Regions from separate parts of the Homo sapiens genome. Here regions 2, 3 and 4 are each linked to region 1. Evidence: promoter capture Hi-C in 16 types of primary human blood cells and fetal thymus (Javierre and others, 2016). All regions are on one chromosome and are shown on one strand. The core of a region is centred on a gene start or on the middle of the fragment in contact, and the rest is flanking DNA. Distances in the headings are between cores, read along the strand shown. Region 1 holds the start of ZNF683 (zinc finger protein 683). Region 2 has its middle 17 kb from the start of FAM110D. Region 3 overlaps CATSPER4 (cation channel sperm associated 4). Region 4 holds the start of LOC124903882 (a long non-coding RNA gene).

What was found. The method cuts DNA at HindIII sites, captures the fragments that hold promoters and counts their contacts. A CHiCAGO score of 5 or more calls a contact.
Region 2: a contact is called between a fragment that was not itself captured here and the fragment with the promoter of ZNF683 in region 1, in 3 of 17 cell types (naive B cells, M2 macrophages and M0 macrophages). The highest score is 7.8, in naive B cells.
Region 3: a fragment that was not itself captured here is called in contact with the fragment with the promoter of ZNF683 in region 1 in 3 of 17 cell types (M0 macrophages, M2 macrophages and monocytes); the score reaches 6.3 in M0 macrophages.
Region 4: a fragment that was not itself captured here is called in contact with the fragment with the promoter of ZNF683 in region 1 in 2 of 17 cell types (M0 macrophages and M1 macrophages); the score reaches 5.4 in M0 macrophages.

Annotation. Positions count from the first base shown.
Region 1 is chr1:26,370,952-26,375,180 of GRCh38, reverse strand. It overlaps ZNF683 (zinc finger protein 683), which reads left to right and starts at 2,431. Exons shown (of 6, transcript NM_001114759.3): 1 at 2,431-2,512. The HindIII fragment of the contact is 11,410 bases long and covers 1-4,229 here.
Region 2 is chr1:26,140,204-26,144,432 of GRCh38, reverse strand. No RefSeq gene overlaps it. Among named protein-coding and RNA genes, the nearest start is that of FAM110D, 17 kb to the left of the region's middle. The HindIII fragment of the contact is 6,302 bases long and covers 1-4,229 here.
Region 3 is chr1:26,197,418-26,199,955 of GRCh38, reverse strand. CATSPER4 (cation channel sperm associated 4) reads right to left here. Exons shown (of 10, transcript NM_198137.2): 4 at 2,173-2,270; 5 at 1,879-1,999; 6 at 1,537-1,670; 7 at 1-72. Among named protein-coding and RNA genes, the nearest start is that of CATSPER4, 8.1 kb to the right of the region's middle. RefSeq lists an enhancer at 1,485-1,984. The HindIII fragment of the contact is 8,937 bases long and covers 1-2,538 here.
Region 4 is chr1:26,223,536-26,227,764 of GRCh38, reverse strand. LOC124903882 (a long non-coding RNA gene) reads left to right here and starts at 2,468. Exons shown (of 2, transcript XR_007065556.1): 1 at 2,468-2,555; 2 at 2,752-3,166. It also overlaps the pseudogene ZPLD2P. RefSeq lists enhancers at 2,543-2,602, 2,109-2,613, 2,614-3,119. The HindIII fragment of the contact is 963 bases long and covers 1,212-2,174 here.

The DNA.
Region 1 (4,229 bases), core at 1,182-3,681:
AACTCTCAAAAACTCTGTAATGGGGCCTTTGAGCCCCTATGCTCAGGCCTGCTCCCACACTGCAGAGTGTACTTTCATTTTCAATAAGTCACTTCATTCCTTAGGAAAAAAAAAAGCAATTAAAAAAATCAATTTACCTGTTTGTTGGTTCATAGAAAAATGTCTGGAAGGGTAAACACTAAACAATTCACATTGACCACTGGGAAATTGCGAAGGAGGAGGAGCTTCCATTTTTCGTTTTTACATTTTCTGTTGTTTGAAATGTTTACCACTAGTATGTATTATTTTGCAACTAACGAAAGGAAGAAGAAAGTGTGCAGTGAGCACCGGGAGCCCAAGGACCCAGCCCCTCCAGCTCTTGTCCCCTAATGTGGAGGCACCTCCTCTTCAGAGGCCTCCCGAATGTGCCCCTTGCACCTGGAGTCAGCTCCCTACTCCCCCTCTGTCCGCACTTCCCAAACCCACTCTGGTGATCATGGGCTTTCCTTGGCTTGGGTCTCTGGTCTGGGTCAAGGCATCTGCTCAGGTTCCTCAGTTAGAAGACCATGGTCCTCCCTCTGTGCTACCTCCCCAGGGCATGTGGGACAAAGTGACATCACATTTAGGCCTGTGACATCACAGGGCATGGATGACACAAGACAGATGATCTGGGAGATGACAGCAAGGAAGGGCTTGGCAGGCAGAGGCTTCTCCACGTGGGAACCTGAGGGAGTCTGTCCTCAGCCCACCTCCTGGGGCATTTCCTAGCCAAGCCAGGGAGCTTTCAGGATTGGAGACCTGGAAATCTCCAAGGCCATTTCCTTTTTTATTTTTTTCTAACAGAGAGGTTGTGCAAAGTGTTCTGAGAGCTGGGAGCAGAGTGTGATGCCAGGAGGGAGCACAGCTGGCAGATGGAAGCCAAAGGTGTGTGGGGAAGTGCCTTGGAGGGGAGGAAACTTCACTCGGTGCCCCTCACTTCCCTGTGATTCCCAGCAAGACAGCAGGGGAGGCGGGCTTGTGGCCTGGGGGTCTGAGAGGGCTCTTCCTTTTAGGGAGTAGAGTTTTGGTGAACTAAGCCCCTCCATTACGCTGAAGGATACTGAGGGGGCCACTGAGGAGTTGGGGGAAGGACTGGGAACAGCATGTGGGAAGAGAGAGCAAGAAAGAAAGAAATGAGGGGGTGGCTGTCGTAGTGGGGGAAGCTGACATGGCCAAGAGATGGCAGAGTCTGAGGTTTACCACTAAAGAGCTCTTGGCTACTTGTTGTGTGACTCTGGATGAGCTGCTAATAATAAAATCCACCACACAGGCTTATTGTGAAGACTAAATGAGATAAAGTTTATGAAGCCCCTAGCACAGTGCCAGACACAGCAAGAAAGCTGTTTGTAAAGGTGGCTATTTACTCTGTTCCTTGGACAATTCCAGCTGGAACCCTGTTACTTTATCTTCTATTCTGGGCATGTATAATGCAGAATTATCAGTTGTAAGCTACAAAAACCATTTCAGGAGGAGTTAAGCAGAAGGAATTTGTTTAAAAGATGTTAGAAAAGCTCGCAGGAGGTCTGAGAAGGCTGGAGAGCAAGGCTTGGAGAATAGGATGGATCAAGGGAGGCTGGAAGTAGACAGGACCATGGCCAAATATCACACCCCAGGACCAGCCCTGCACAGATTCTGCAGCCTCCCCTGAACCCCCTTCTTTCCTTCACTGCCCTGGAAGCCGGATGTGGTACCACAGCCTTTGTTGTAGAGAGGAGTTTCCACAGACCTGCCACCTCAGGACCAGTGGCTTTTTTTATTGTATTTTATTTTATTTTGAGATGGAGCCTCACTCTGTTGCCCAGCCTGGAGTGTAGCAGAGCCATCTCAGCTCACTGCAACCTCCGCCTCCCGGGTTCAAGCAATTCTCCTGCCTCAGTCTCCCAAGTAGCTGGAAATACAGGCACGTGCCACCACACTTGGCTAATTTTTGTATTTTTGTAGAGATGGGGTCCCACCATGTTGGCCAGGCTGGTCTTGAACTCCTGACCTCAAGTGATCTGCCCGCCTCGGCCTCCCAAAGTCCTGGGATTACAGGCGTGAGCCACTGCGCTCAGCCAGTGGCACTAGCTTCTGATCTGCTAGTCTACTGGGCTGCAGTGGAGATTAATGGCTGCTTGGGGCTTTTGTACCCTGGGCCAGACTCACGCACACCAGAATTTGTGTGAGGCCACAGGGGTTATGCCTCTTCTCATGCTCACAAGACTCGGCTTGGCAAGGAAATGTCCCAGGAGGTGGGCTAAGACAGACTCCCTCAGGTTCCCACATGGAGCAGCCTCTGCCTGCCAAGCCCTTCCTTGCTCTCGTCTCCCAGATCATCTGTCTTGTCAGCCTCCATGCCCTGTGATGTCACAGGCCTAAATGTGATGTCACTTTGTCCCACATGCCCTGGGGAGGTAGCACAAAGGGAGGACCATGGTCTTCTAACTGAGGAACCTGAGCAGATGCCTTGACCCAGACCAGAGACCCAAGCCAAGGAAAGCCCATGATCACCAGAGTAGGTTGGGAAGTGCGGATAGAGGGGAAGTAGTTTTTATTTTTTTCTAACAGAGAAGTTGTGCAAGGTGTTCTGAGAGTTGGGAGCAGAGTGTGATGCCAGGAGAGGGCAGAGCTGGCAGATGGAAGCCAAAGGTGTGCGGGTCACCCCTTCTGGGTGGGGACATCTGATCGACCTAGTCCATGTATGCCTGCATGAAGTGCTGGTGAGGGAGGTTGGAATTAAGTATTTGGCCATTTCGGCTTTTATAATGGGAGGTACCTTTTGCCTCCCTCAAGACTCATGTAGGGGAAAAGTTTCAGAGGCTGGGCGTCCAAAAAAACCTGACAGATGTCTACATGGAAAACCAAAATGAGTAGACAGAGGACCCTGTCCTTGAGATGCTCACAAACATGTTGGGATCAGTTATGTGGAGGATGAGTCACAGCCCTAGGGGCTGAGCTGGCAGAGAAACCCCAGGAACATGCCCCAGCCCATGGTGCACAGCCTGAGATGTCCCTGTATATTCTGGGACACCAGGGTGGCGTGGCTGGGGTGCAGATTGATGGCTGGTTGGGGCTTTTGCACCCTGGGCCAGACTCACGCACACCAGAATTTGTGTAAGGCCGCAGGGGTGATGCCTCTTCTCATGCTCACAAGAATAATGACATTGCTCAGGCTAAAAAGCCACTTTCTGGCCTATGAGGTCTCCCTTTTTGTATCTAGACATGTCTTTTCCTTATTTATTAACTTTTTTTAAGACAGGGTCTCGCTCTGTCACCCAGGCTGGAGTGCAGTGGCATGATCTCAGCTCACTGCAGTCTCGACCTCCCTGGCTCAAGTGATCCTCCCACCTCAGCCTCCTGAGTAGCTGGAACAACAGGCATGCGCTACCATGCCTGGCTAATTTTTGTATTTTTTGTAGAGATGGTGTTTCACCATGTTGCTCATGCTGGTCTTGAACTCCTGGGCTCAAGCAGTTGGCCCACCTCAGCCTCCCAAAGTGCTGGGATTACAGATGTGAGCCACCACACCTGGCCTAGTCATGCCTTACACCCATTTTGCTATGTCTATTTTTTTTTTTTTTAAAGAGACAGGGTCTTTCTCTGTCACCCAGGCTAGAGTGCAGTGGCAATATCCTAGTTCACTGCAGCCTTATATTCCTGGGCTCAAGTGATCCTCCTGCCTCAGCCTCCTGAGTAGCTGGGACCAGAGGTGCAAGTCACCATGCCCAGCTAAGTTTTGTATTTTTTGTAGAGATGAGGTCTTGCTTTGTTGCCCAGGCTGATCTCAAACTCCTGGGCTCAAGAGATGGGTCTGCCTTGGTCTCCTGAAGTGCTGGGATTACAGATGTGAGCCACTTCACCTGGCCATGTGCTTGAATTATCTTTTGCCTCTTGGGGCCTCTAGATTAGAGGATAGAACTTTCCAGGGTCAGGAGATCTGAGATGGGACTTGGAGGAGGAAAACGTGTTTGCTGTATCTCTGTGAGATCAGCTGCCTTCTCTGTCCTCTGTCTCATTCCATATCCTTCTATGTTGCCTGTTCTTGTCTCTGCCTGTTCCTGTCCCTACCTGTCACCATCACTGTCTCCCTGTCATCATCAATGCCTATCTTCATCTCAGCTTGGCTCCCCTCCACAGAAGGCTCCCCTGTTCAGCCTTTGAGCCCTACTCTGTCCTCCCGTCCAGCCATCTGGGTACTTTGAGAACAGAAATAACAGCCCGCCCCCCTCACA
Region 2 (4,229 bases), core at 1,066-3,565, 230 kb after region 1:
TTTTTAAGATGGTGTCTCACTCTTGTTGCCCAAGCTGGAGTGTAGTGGCGTGATTTCGGCTCACTGCAACCTCTGACTCTTGGGTTCAAGCGATTCTCCTGCCTCAGCCTCCCAAGTAGCTGGGATTACAGGCATGTGCCACCATGCCCGGCTAATTTTTGTATTTTTAGTAGATACGGGGTTTCACCATGTTGGCCTGGCTGGTCTCAAACTCCTGACCTCAAGTGATCCTCCCACCTCGGCCTCCCAAAGTGCTGGGATTACAGGTGTGAGCCACCGTACCCAGCCTAAAAAACACTTTTTTAAACATTGATTTTTTTCCCCACTGTTAGTTTGGAGGTTATTGGTTCTAGGTCTGGTTTTTTTAATGGTTATCTCAACAATTCTAACCTAATGATGAGTCTGTTTACTGAGTTTTCCATTTCAGTTAGCATAATTTTTTCATTTTCAGAAATTGTATTTGGTTCTTTTGGAAATTTACTTGCTAACACATAGTATCAAGTCCTTTCTTTCTTTCTGTCCTTCTTTTCTTTTTTTTTTTAATGAGACAGGGTCTCACTTTGTCACGTAGGCTACAGTGCAGTGGTGTGATCTCGGCTCACTGCAGCCTCCACCTCTTGGGCCCAAGCTATCCTCCTGCCTCAGGTCCCCAAGTAGCTGAGACTACCGGTGGGTGCCATGATGCCCGGCTAATTTTTGTATGTGTTGTAGAGACGGAGTTTTGCCATGTTGCCCAGGCTGGTCTGGAACTCCAGAGCTCAAATGATCTGCCCGCCTCAACCGCCCAAGTGCTAGGATTACAGGTGTGAGCCACATGCCTGGCCTATTTCCTTAAACATATTAAGCAAGATTATCTTTTATTCTGTCTGATAATTTCAATATCTTTGAAGGTCTGTTTCCACCGCCTCCCAATCCTGCTTGTTCTTTCTCATGGTCCCTTATTATCTTGTGTTCAGTTATTTTTTGTCACTAGCTGCTCATGTTGTTTGGAAATCTGTGGGAATTATTTTAGACTTGTGTTGAAGTTGAGTTTCTTCAGAGACAATTTGAAATGATTTCTGTCAATAATGTGCTAGTACTACCAACTCATATCACTTTAAATTTTAAATTCTCTGAGGATTTTAGGATTACATAGTAATATGATTTGACTTGGGATTTCATGAGAGAGCTGGCTTGAAAGTTATGAACTCTTTGTTTCTTGGAAAGTTATGAAGTTTTTTTTTTTTTTTTTTTTTTGAGATGGAGTCTTGCTCTGTCACCCAGGCTGGAGTGCAGTGGTGTGAGCTCAGTTCACTGCAAACTCTGCCTCCCGAGTTCAAGCGATTCTCCTGCCTCAGCCTCCCAAGTAGCTGGGACTACAGGTGTGCACCATCACTCCCGGCTAATTTTTGTATTTTTGGTAGAGGTGGGGTTTCACCATGTTGGCCAGGCTGGTCTTGAACTCCTGAACTCAGGTGATCCGTCTGCCTCAGCCTCCCAAAGTGCTGGGATTATAGGCATGAGCCACTGCATCCAGCCAAAAGTTATGAATTCTTTTTTTTTTTTTTTTTTGAGACAGAGTCTAGCTTTGTCACCAGGCTGGAGTGCAGTGACACAATCTCAGCTCACCGCAACCTCCGCCTCCCGGGTTCAAGCGATTCTCTTGCCTCAGCCTCCCGAGTAGCTGGGATTACAGGCACATGCCACCACACCCAGCTAATTTTTGTTTTTTTTTCAGTAGTGACAGGGTTTCGCTATGTTACCCAGGATGGTCTTGATCTCCTGACTTCATGATCCGCCCGCCTCGGCCTCCCAAAGTACTGGGATTGCAGGCTTGAGACACCGCGCCTAGCCAAAAGCTATGAATTCTTAAAGGTGATTTTATTTTCTTCTCTTTCCAGGGCCAGAGTTGATATAGGAAGATTTCATTGGACCTCCCATCTGAGCGCTATGGTTTATTTATTTATTTATTTATTTATTTATTTTCTGAGACAAAGTCTGGCTCTATTGCCCAGGCTGGAGTGCAGTGGCATGATCTTAGCGCACTGCAACCTCTGCCTCCTGGGCTCAAACCATCCTCCCACCTCAGCCTCCTGGTGGACACACGCCATCACACCCAGCTAATTTTTTATAGTTTTTGGAGAGAAGGAGTTTCATCATGTTGCCCGGGCTGGTCTCCAACTTGTAAGCTCAAGCAATCTGCCTGCCTCAGCCTCCCAAAGTGCGGGGATTACAAGCGTGAGCCACCACGCCCAGCCGATTTATTTTACCTTAGCTCTTACACTGTAGTTATGACCCTCCGGGGTCTCCTATTAAGAGTTCCCATTTTGGAGAAGCCTTGGGATTTATCTCCTGTCCCCCAGGTATCCTATGCAAACATGAAAGGAGGATGTTAAGGTCTCTGGGGTTTGGCAGGCATCCTGAGGGTTAAACACGATGTTGGTATTTACTTTCCTTTTTCCATAGTTCCTGGTTTCACTTCATTTTGGGGCTTATTTCTTACTTTCATGCAGCTCAGCAACATAATAAAAAAAATTAAAAACTTTATACAATAATTTAGTTTTTTATCATCAGAAGGATCACTCGGGTATCTAATTCATCATATTACTGGGAAATTTTTTTCTTTTTTTTGAGACGAAGTCTCACTCTTGTCCCCCAGGTTGCAGTGCAGTGGCACGATCTCGGCTCACTGCAACCTCTGCCTCCCGGGTTCAAGCGATTCTCCTGCCGCAGTCTCCCAAGTAGCTGTGATTACAGGCGCCTGCCACCACACCTGGCTAATTTTTGTATTTTTAGTAGAGACTGAGTTTCACCATGTTGACCAGGCTGGTCTTGAACTCCTGACCTCAGGTGATCCGCCCGCCTCGGCCTTCCAAAGTGCTGGGATTACAGGCATGAACCATCACACCCGGCTACTGGGAAAATATTAAAACACAGATTTCATTGTCATAACTCACATTTGTTTTATGATATTTTATAGTCTTTGCACATTTTAATTTGAGTTTCATACAGTATGGCTTGTGCATATTATGATTTATAATAATAACATAATTTAATTTTTGCAACTCATGAAGGTAGATATTATTATTCCTGTTTTACAGATGAAGAAACATAGGCTCCAAGTTTTTTTTTTTTTTTTTTTTTGAGACGGAGTCTCGCTCTGTCGCCCAGGCTGGAGTGCAGTGGCACGATCTCGGCTCACTGCAAGCTCCGCCTCCCGGGTTCATGCCATTCTCCTGCCTCAGCCTCTCCGAGTAGCTGGGACTACAGGCACCCGCCACCACGCCCAGCTAATTTTTTGTATTTTTAGTAGAGATGGGGTTTCACCGTGGTCTCCATCTCCTGACCTCGTGATCCGCCCACCTCGGCCTTCCAAAGTGCTGGGATTACAAGGTGAGCCACCGCGCCTGGCCTGGCTCCAAGTTTCAAGAGTAAAGCTAAGTGGCTCAACAGAGCCTTCAGCCATTGGTATTCATACTCCAATGTTCTTAGCCCTTGGAGGACAGGAACTGCCCCCCGCCATTAAGAATCTGATAAAAACTCTAGACTATCTTCCCAGAAATACGTGCATTGATACAAGGACACTAAAACTTCAGGAGGTTTGGGATTCTCTGAGATCTATCCATGGATCCTACAATAAAGACCGCTGTATATTACAGCGCAGAAAAGCTGAACAAAAAGACACGTTCATTTTTTAGCTTTGATCACAAATTCAGATTTTTCTGCCTGTCTTTTTTTTTTATCTTTCTTTCTTTTTTTTTTTCAGACAGTCTCGTTCTGTTGCCCAGGCTGAAATGCAGTGGTGTGATCTTGGCTCACTGCAACCTCCGCCTCCTGGGTTCAAGTGATTCTCCTGCCTCAGGATCCCAAGTAGCTGGGATTACAGGCACATGCCACCATGCCCGGCTAATTTTTGTATTTTTAGTAGAGACGGGGTTTCACCATGTTGGCCAGGCTGAACTCCTGACCTCAGGTGATCTGCTTGCCTTGCCCTCCCAAGTGCTGGGATTACAGGTGTGAGTCACTGTGCCCGGCCTGCGTTTTTCATAGAGACGGGGCTTTCTCATGTTGCCCAGGCTGGTCTCGAACTCCTGGCCTCAAGTGATCCGCCCATCTCAGCCTCCCAAAGTTCTGGGATTACAGGTGTGAGCCACCATGCCCGGCCTCTTCTGCTTGTCTTGAAGACCCTTTATTCATCCAACCTTTTTTCCTAACACACATTTCCAGCAGTTTTCCACCTAGGCAGCTGT
Region 3 (2,538 bases), core at 1-2,500, 170 kb after region 1:
GCACCGATGGTGATGAAGATGGTAAAGTAGATGGCACCCCCAATCTCCATTGCATATTCCCTCTTCTCTGTCCTGCAGATGGCAGGCAGGGGCCCCATCATTTCCCTGGCCCTTCAAGCCTGAGTTTCCTTGTCATTGAAATGGGAAAATCATCCCAAGGCCTACTAGAACTTCTGCCTGTGTCACTGCTGTTGTGCAGATCCCATTCCCTACTCCTGTCTCAATAGCTGCTCTCTACTAAGCACCTACTGTGCTGCCAGACAGTGAGCTGATTCTCTAACCAACCCTGCAAGGTGGGGACGTGCACATCAACACTATTAAGTTTAATCTATTAGCTACACTCCTTTTTTTTTTTTTGAGATGGAGTCTCGCTGTGTTGCCCAGACTGGAGTGAAGTGGCGTGATCTCGGCTCACTGCAAGCTCCACCTCCTGGGTTCATGTCGTTCTCCCGCCTCAGCCTCCCAAGTAGCTGAGACTACAGGTGCTTGCCACCACGCCTGGCTAATTTTTTTTTTTTTTTTTTGAGACAGAGTCTCACTCTGTCACCTAAGCTGGAGTGCAGTGGCGTGATATGGGTTCACCGCAACCTCCGCCTCCCAGGTTCAAGCGATTCTCCTGCCTTAGCCTCCTGAGTAGCTGGGATTACAGGCGCCCCACCGTCCGGCTAATTTTTGTATATTTAGTAGAGACGGGGTTTCACCTTTTTGGCCAGGCTGGTCTTGAACTCCTGACCTTGTGATCCACCTGCCTCAGCCTCCCAAAGTGCTGGGATTACAGGTGTGAGCCACTGCACTGGGCTTTGTTTTTGTATTTTTAGTAGAGATGGGGTTTCACTGTGTTAGCCAGGATAGCCTTGATCTGACCTCGTGAGCTGCCCACCTCGGCCTCCCAAGGTGCTGGGATTACAGGCGTGAGCCACCGCGCCCGGCCCCGGCCAGCCTGATTTTTATCCACTACCTATGCCATAATGGAGAATGACTGTAGAAGCCCTTTATCTACTGGGCTTCTATACTCACATGTAGAAGATAAAAAGAAATCAGTTAAGGGGTCCCACTTTCTGGAATAAACTGGAAAGAAATAGGGCTTAGACTTAATAGAAAAGAGGTAAAGAACAGAACACAAAAATGAATGTGGGCAGTGGGTTTAAGAATGAATGAAATGAGACCTGAAGTTCCCAGGAGTTCAGGCAGTTTGGTGGGCTCCAAGGTGGGCTGGGAGGTTGCTCTGTAACCTGAGGCATAACTGCAGACCTGCTGCCTTATCCAAGGCCAACTACCCAGCTGGTTAGCATGATGGGAGAGGTCCCCATTACAGGGTGGGAATGGGACTCTGAATATATGGAGATTCAAGGGTGACAAGGCTTCAGGTATCACAAGTCCAGGTATTTCCTTTTCCTCTGTTTAAAGACCTGGGAACCCCCACTTCTACTGGGCCATCCTCATCCCAATCCCTGGAGCTCCCACTCTCAGCCTGGAGCTCCACCGGCTACCCTGCCCCATAGGTGGGATGAGGCTGGAAGTCCCACTGGCACTCACTGGAAGTCACTGTAGATGTCCACCCAGCCGTCCTGGGTGATGCAGATGAAGAGGGTGTACAGCGCAACCTGTATGTTCTGGAAATGCTTGGGCACGAATGCACCAAAGAGTGTTACTCCAAACACGGAAAAAACCTGTCAGAGAGAAAAGAGCCCCACCCCGACTTCACCAAAGGGCCTGGAAATAGGACACACAAATGTCATGTAAATGAACGCTGCTGAGGAAATCACAGGGATTCAGGCCCACAGGCCTCTCTGCTTTTCCAGACACCCCTCTATTTGCAATGACCCAAGGGCCCTGTTCAGGGAAGGGAAACAGCTGGGGGCGGGGGCAGGCACTGACCAGCATGAAGAAGAGGATGAGGACCATGATATTGGCCATGTCAGGCACCGACTGCAGGATGACGCGGATGATCCGGGCGAGGGGCTCCACCGCCATGCACACATGCACCAGACGAAGCGCCCTGTGGCAGAGCCTGTCAGGGGTGCCCCTAGGCCCTTCCCAGCCCCTTCCCTCCTCATTACCCCCACCAGCTGCCCAGAGAGGCAAAGCTGATCTCCAGCTGGTCGTTATCCCCCCATCTCATTCCTGGGTTCCAGATAGGTCCCCCTCATTTCTCCAGAGCTCCCCGCTCACCTGAGAGTGTAGTTGATGGAGGGAATATTGATTTCATTAATGAAGAACCGCAAGAGCAAGATAAAGACGATAATGAAGTTGAGGATGTTCCAGCCGTCCTGGGGAGTGGGCCAGCCCCAGTGGGGTCTGTCAGGCCCAGCCCATGGGGGCATCCTAGGTCTGCCCTCCCCACATCCCAGGGATGAGGGCTCAATGTCCCTCTCAGAGCAGGGCCAGTCAGCTGCCATCCACTGCTGTTACCCTGCCGCCCCCCAAACAAGCCACAAAACACACGTGTACTCTCTGTCCCATACATGTGTCAATAGCCAAATGCAGTCTCAGAGACACACAGCAAAGACCCTTACAGATACATGGCTGGTCCCTAAG
Region 4 (4,229 bases), core at 444-2,943, 150 kb after region 1:
CAGAATTAAGTGGCATTGAGAGCAGGGGAAAGTTTTTAGGCTTAGATATTCCCCTTTAGGGAATTATTTAGAAATCCATTCATTCATTCAACAAGCTTTCTTGGGACTGACTGTGTGTAAGTTAAATTGGGGGTGGGGAGGATGGGGATGAAAGGCACTGTCTAGTTCAGTGTGGACCCTACTCAGCCACCTTCACCTGTCCTTGTTACCTGTCTGGCTCTGTATCTTGAATTTTCTTTTTTCTTTTAGAGACAGGGTCTCACTCTGTCTCCCAGGCTGGAGTGTGGTGGCGCCATCATAGTTCACTGCACCCTCAAACTCCTGGTCTCAAGCGATCCTTCTGCCTCAGCCTCTCAAGTAGCTAGGATTACAAGCATGTGCCATGATGCCCAGCTAATTTTTAAATTTTTTATAGAGACAGCATCTTGCTGTGTTGTCCAGGCTGGTGTCAAACTCCTGGCCCCAACCACTCCTCCCACTTTGGTCTCGCAAAATGCTGGGATTACAAGTGTGAGCCACTGCCTGGCCTGTATCTTGAATTTTCACCTCCTACCTGCTTGCCCCTGTATCTTGAATTTTCAATCATTTCTGGATAGACTCAGGTTCTGATGAAGGATAAACCACCAGCCCCACAATGACAAGTGCCATGTACTGTTGAGACCCAAGAAGCTGAGACTCAAATAAGTTAACTGCCGGGCATGATGGCTCACACCTATAATCCCAGCATTTTGGGAGGCTGAGGCAGGCAGATCGTCTGGGGTCAGGAGTTCGAGACCAGCCAGGCCAACATGGTGAAACCCTCCCTCTACTAAAGTACAAAAATTAGCTGGGCATGGTGGTGCGTGCCTGTAATCCCAGATACTCGGGAGGCTGAGGCAGGAGAATGGCTTGAACCCGGGGGGCAGAGGTTGCAGTGAGCTGAGATCACGCCACTGCACTCCAGCCTGGGCATCAGAGTGAGACTCTGTCTCAAAAAAAAAAAAAAAAAAAAGAAAGAAAAAAAAAAAGGTTAACTGACTTCTCTCAGCTCGTATAGAGTGGAGCAGAAACAAAATCCAAAACCAGCACCTGCCAAGACCCAGCAGCGTGTATCCTCAGACCCTGGTGCAACCATCAGAACTTCATCACAGCAATATCTTTGTACCAACCTGCCGAGCTTCTGCTGCTGGAGGCATTGGACTATGAAACCACATAGAAAGAGAGATCAAGCTTAAGGTGCCATTCTGGCAGGACAAGGCTAGCATTCTCCCATTATTTTATCAAGACTGGGCAAAGGGCTTGGTCTCTTTGAAACTGAGATTCAGAAGGGTGTGATGATGGACCTCCTGCCTCTAATAAGAATGGACTTAGTAGAAGATGGGCTTTCCCAAGAGGGTTGGAGTTTTTGTTTTGTTTTGTTTTGTTTGTTTTTGCTTTTTGAGACGGAGTCTTGCTCTGTCGCCCAGGCTGGAGTGCAGTGGCAAGATCTTGGCTCATTGCAAGCTCCGCCTCCCGGGTTCACGCCATTCTCCTGCCTCAGCCTCCCGAGTACCTGGGACTACAGGGGCCCGCCCCCACGCCCGGCTAATTTTTTTTTTTTCCTGTATTTTTAGTAGAGATAGTGTTTCACCTTGTTAGCCAGGATGGTCTCGATCTCCTGACCTTATGATCCGCCCACCTCGGCCTTCCAAAGTGCTGGGATTACAGGCGTGAGCCACCGCGCCCGGCGAGGGTTGGGGTTTTGAAGGACCATTATGGAATAGAAAGAAGGGAGAGACTGTTTCTAGATCATTAAGGAAGATTTACCAAAAAAGTTTGGCACGAGGGACAGCCTGGGAGAAGAGTGATCTGGTGTGACAGGAAAGGTGAGAATGGAAGGAGACAGGCAGAGAAGGCTCAGACTTGAAGTTGACTGAGTGAGACCGGTGAGGAGAGCAGAGGGGAAGCCGAGGAGGACATGGGCTTGGGGAGGAGACTTGCATTTAGGGAAGAGTGGAGGGCATGAAGGAAGGAGGGGACAGAGCAGGTCGGTAGGAGGCTCTGGAAGAGGAGTCAGGGAGGCCCCAGAAATGATCCATTTACCGCTTATTCGGATGGGCCCGAATGCTATCCAGCTGCCGCCGCGCTCCAGGCCCTCCCGCGTTCGGATCTCCCAGGAGCGATCCCTCCCAGGCGAGTTCTTCTGACTACAAGCTTGTGGGCAACGCAAGCACAAGGGTAGCGAAGCCGGCCAGGCGAGGACTTTGCCCAAGACCCCAGGGTAGCCCCACCTCCCTCCCCGCCCCAAGTGAGTTCACCATCCACAAGACCTAGGTCTTCAAAATCCCGCCCAGTCTTCCACAAGCCCCGCCCCCGGTAGGACTGGCCAGTCCCCAGCACCGCAGTCCCCCAGGTCCCGCATCAGCACCGCTTCCGTGAAGACGGCGCAGCTGGGAGTCCGGCTACCCAGCCTGCCCGGCAGGAACTGCTTTGCAGGCAAGGCTGCGGCGGCTGCGCAGGAGGTCCCGGGGCTGCCCACTCACTGGTTGGCATGGGCGTCTTGCCCGCGTGTCACACAGGGTCACTCGGCCGTGCAGGTACAGTGTATCGCTGGTCGAGAAGCGGATCAGGTTGAAGGCCAAGGTCACCTCCAGAGAGGCCCCGTTGGCCCGCAGGCCCTGGAGCAGCCGGTTGCTGACGGGGCAGCTGTGGGGAGAGGCAGCGTCAGGGGCCCGCGGTGCCGATGGATGAACACCGAGCACCGTTGCCCACTTTTTACGTTTGCTTGTATAGGTGCAGATGCTGGTTTCATGCTGAGAACTTTACATGGATTGTTTCATTTCATCCTCACCGAACCCGTGAAGAAGACAATACTTTTGCCCCCCACCACCCCTTTTTTAAAGATGAGGAAACTGAGGCTCAAACTGAGGTTCAAAGAGCGTTGCCCAAGGTTCTGCAGGGAGCAGCCTGGCCCCAGCGCCCGCCCACACCCTTAATCACTGGGTTCTATATCCTCCTGACAAGGGAGGAATGACAGGCGAGGACAGGTTTGGCCGTGGTGTGTTTCAGAGCCTGGACTCTGGAGACTGATGGTGTGTCCTGGTTGAAGTCCCCTAAACTCAGAGTCTTCTCTTGTTCTGTCAGCTGTACAGTGGGGGAAATAATACTTCATAGGGTTGTTTGGAGGAATAAATAAGGTAATAAATGATTCCCTGTGCTCTGTGAAGCCTTGTTACTAAAATATGACCTAGAAGTCAGGAGACCCAACTCCTTCCCAAGAACGTTGAGGACGAACTTGAATTTACTGTCTCTGTGTTCCCAACACTTAGCAAGATCTGCAACTTATTGTGTGAACTGAGCCTCAGTTTCTCTATAAAGTGGGAATGAAAATATAACTATCTCGGCCGGGCGCGGTGGCTCACGCCTGTAATCCCAGCACTTTGGGAGGCTGAGGCGGGTGGATCACCTGAGGTCAAAAGTTTGAGACCAGCCTGGCCAATATGGTGAAACCCCATATCTACTAAAAATACAAAAATTAGCCAGGTGTGATGGCCGGTGCCTGTAGTCCCAGCTACTCCGGAGGCTGAGACAGGAGAATTGCTTGAACCTGGGAGGCAGAGGTGGCAGTGAGCCGAGATCGTGCCACTTCACTCCAGCCTGGGTGACAGAGCGAGACTCCATCTCAAAAAAAAGAAGAAAAGAAAATATAACTATCTCATAGAGTGTGTTGTGAGGCTTAAATGAGTTAATATATGTGAAGTGATTCAAACTGTGTCTGGCATAGAGTCAATGCTATGTCAGTATTAGATATTATTAGCTACTAAATATAATGAATGTCCAATATATAGCATATATATAGCACTCTGAAATGTTGTGTCTTTGTTTTTTAGTTTTATCATTGTAGGCCCTCAGTAATTGAGCAAAGAATAAAAGAAATGCATGTTATTTGTTGGCTGCAAGATCTTGGGCAGGCTTTAATCTCTGAGCCTTAATTTACTTATCTTCAAAATGGGAATGAGAGCATTATTCAAGAAACATTCACCCAGCACTTACTTTCTTCCAGTGTTTGCATGCCAGGGATACCAAGAAGAGTGACAGAATCTGTGCTCGAGGGTATAAAAGCACACAGCACAAGCCAAATCCAGGGGCTGGTCTGGCACTCACAGGAGGTTACCAGGCCTGACTGACCCTTGCCTCTTGTTCACAAAGTGGTAGGTGGCCTTAACAGCACCTGTCCTGGAGATGTTGGTGCTGGCAAAGACCTCACTGAC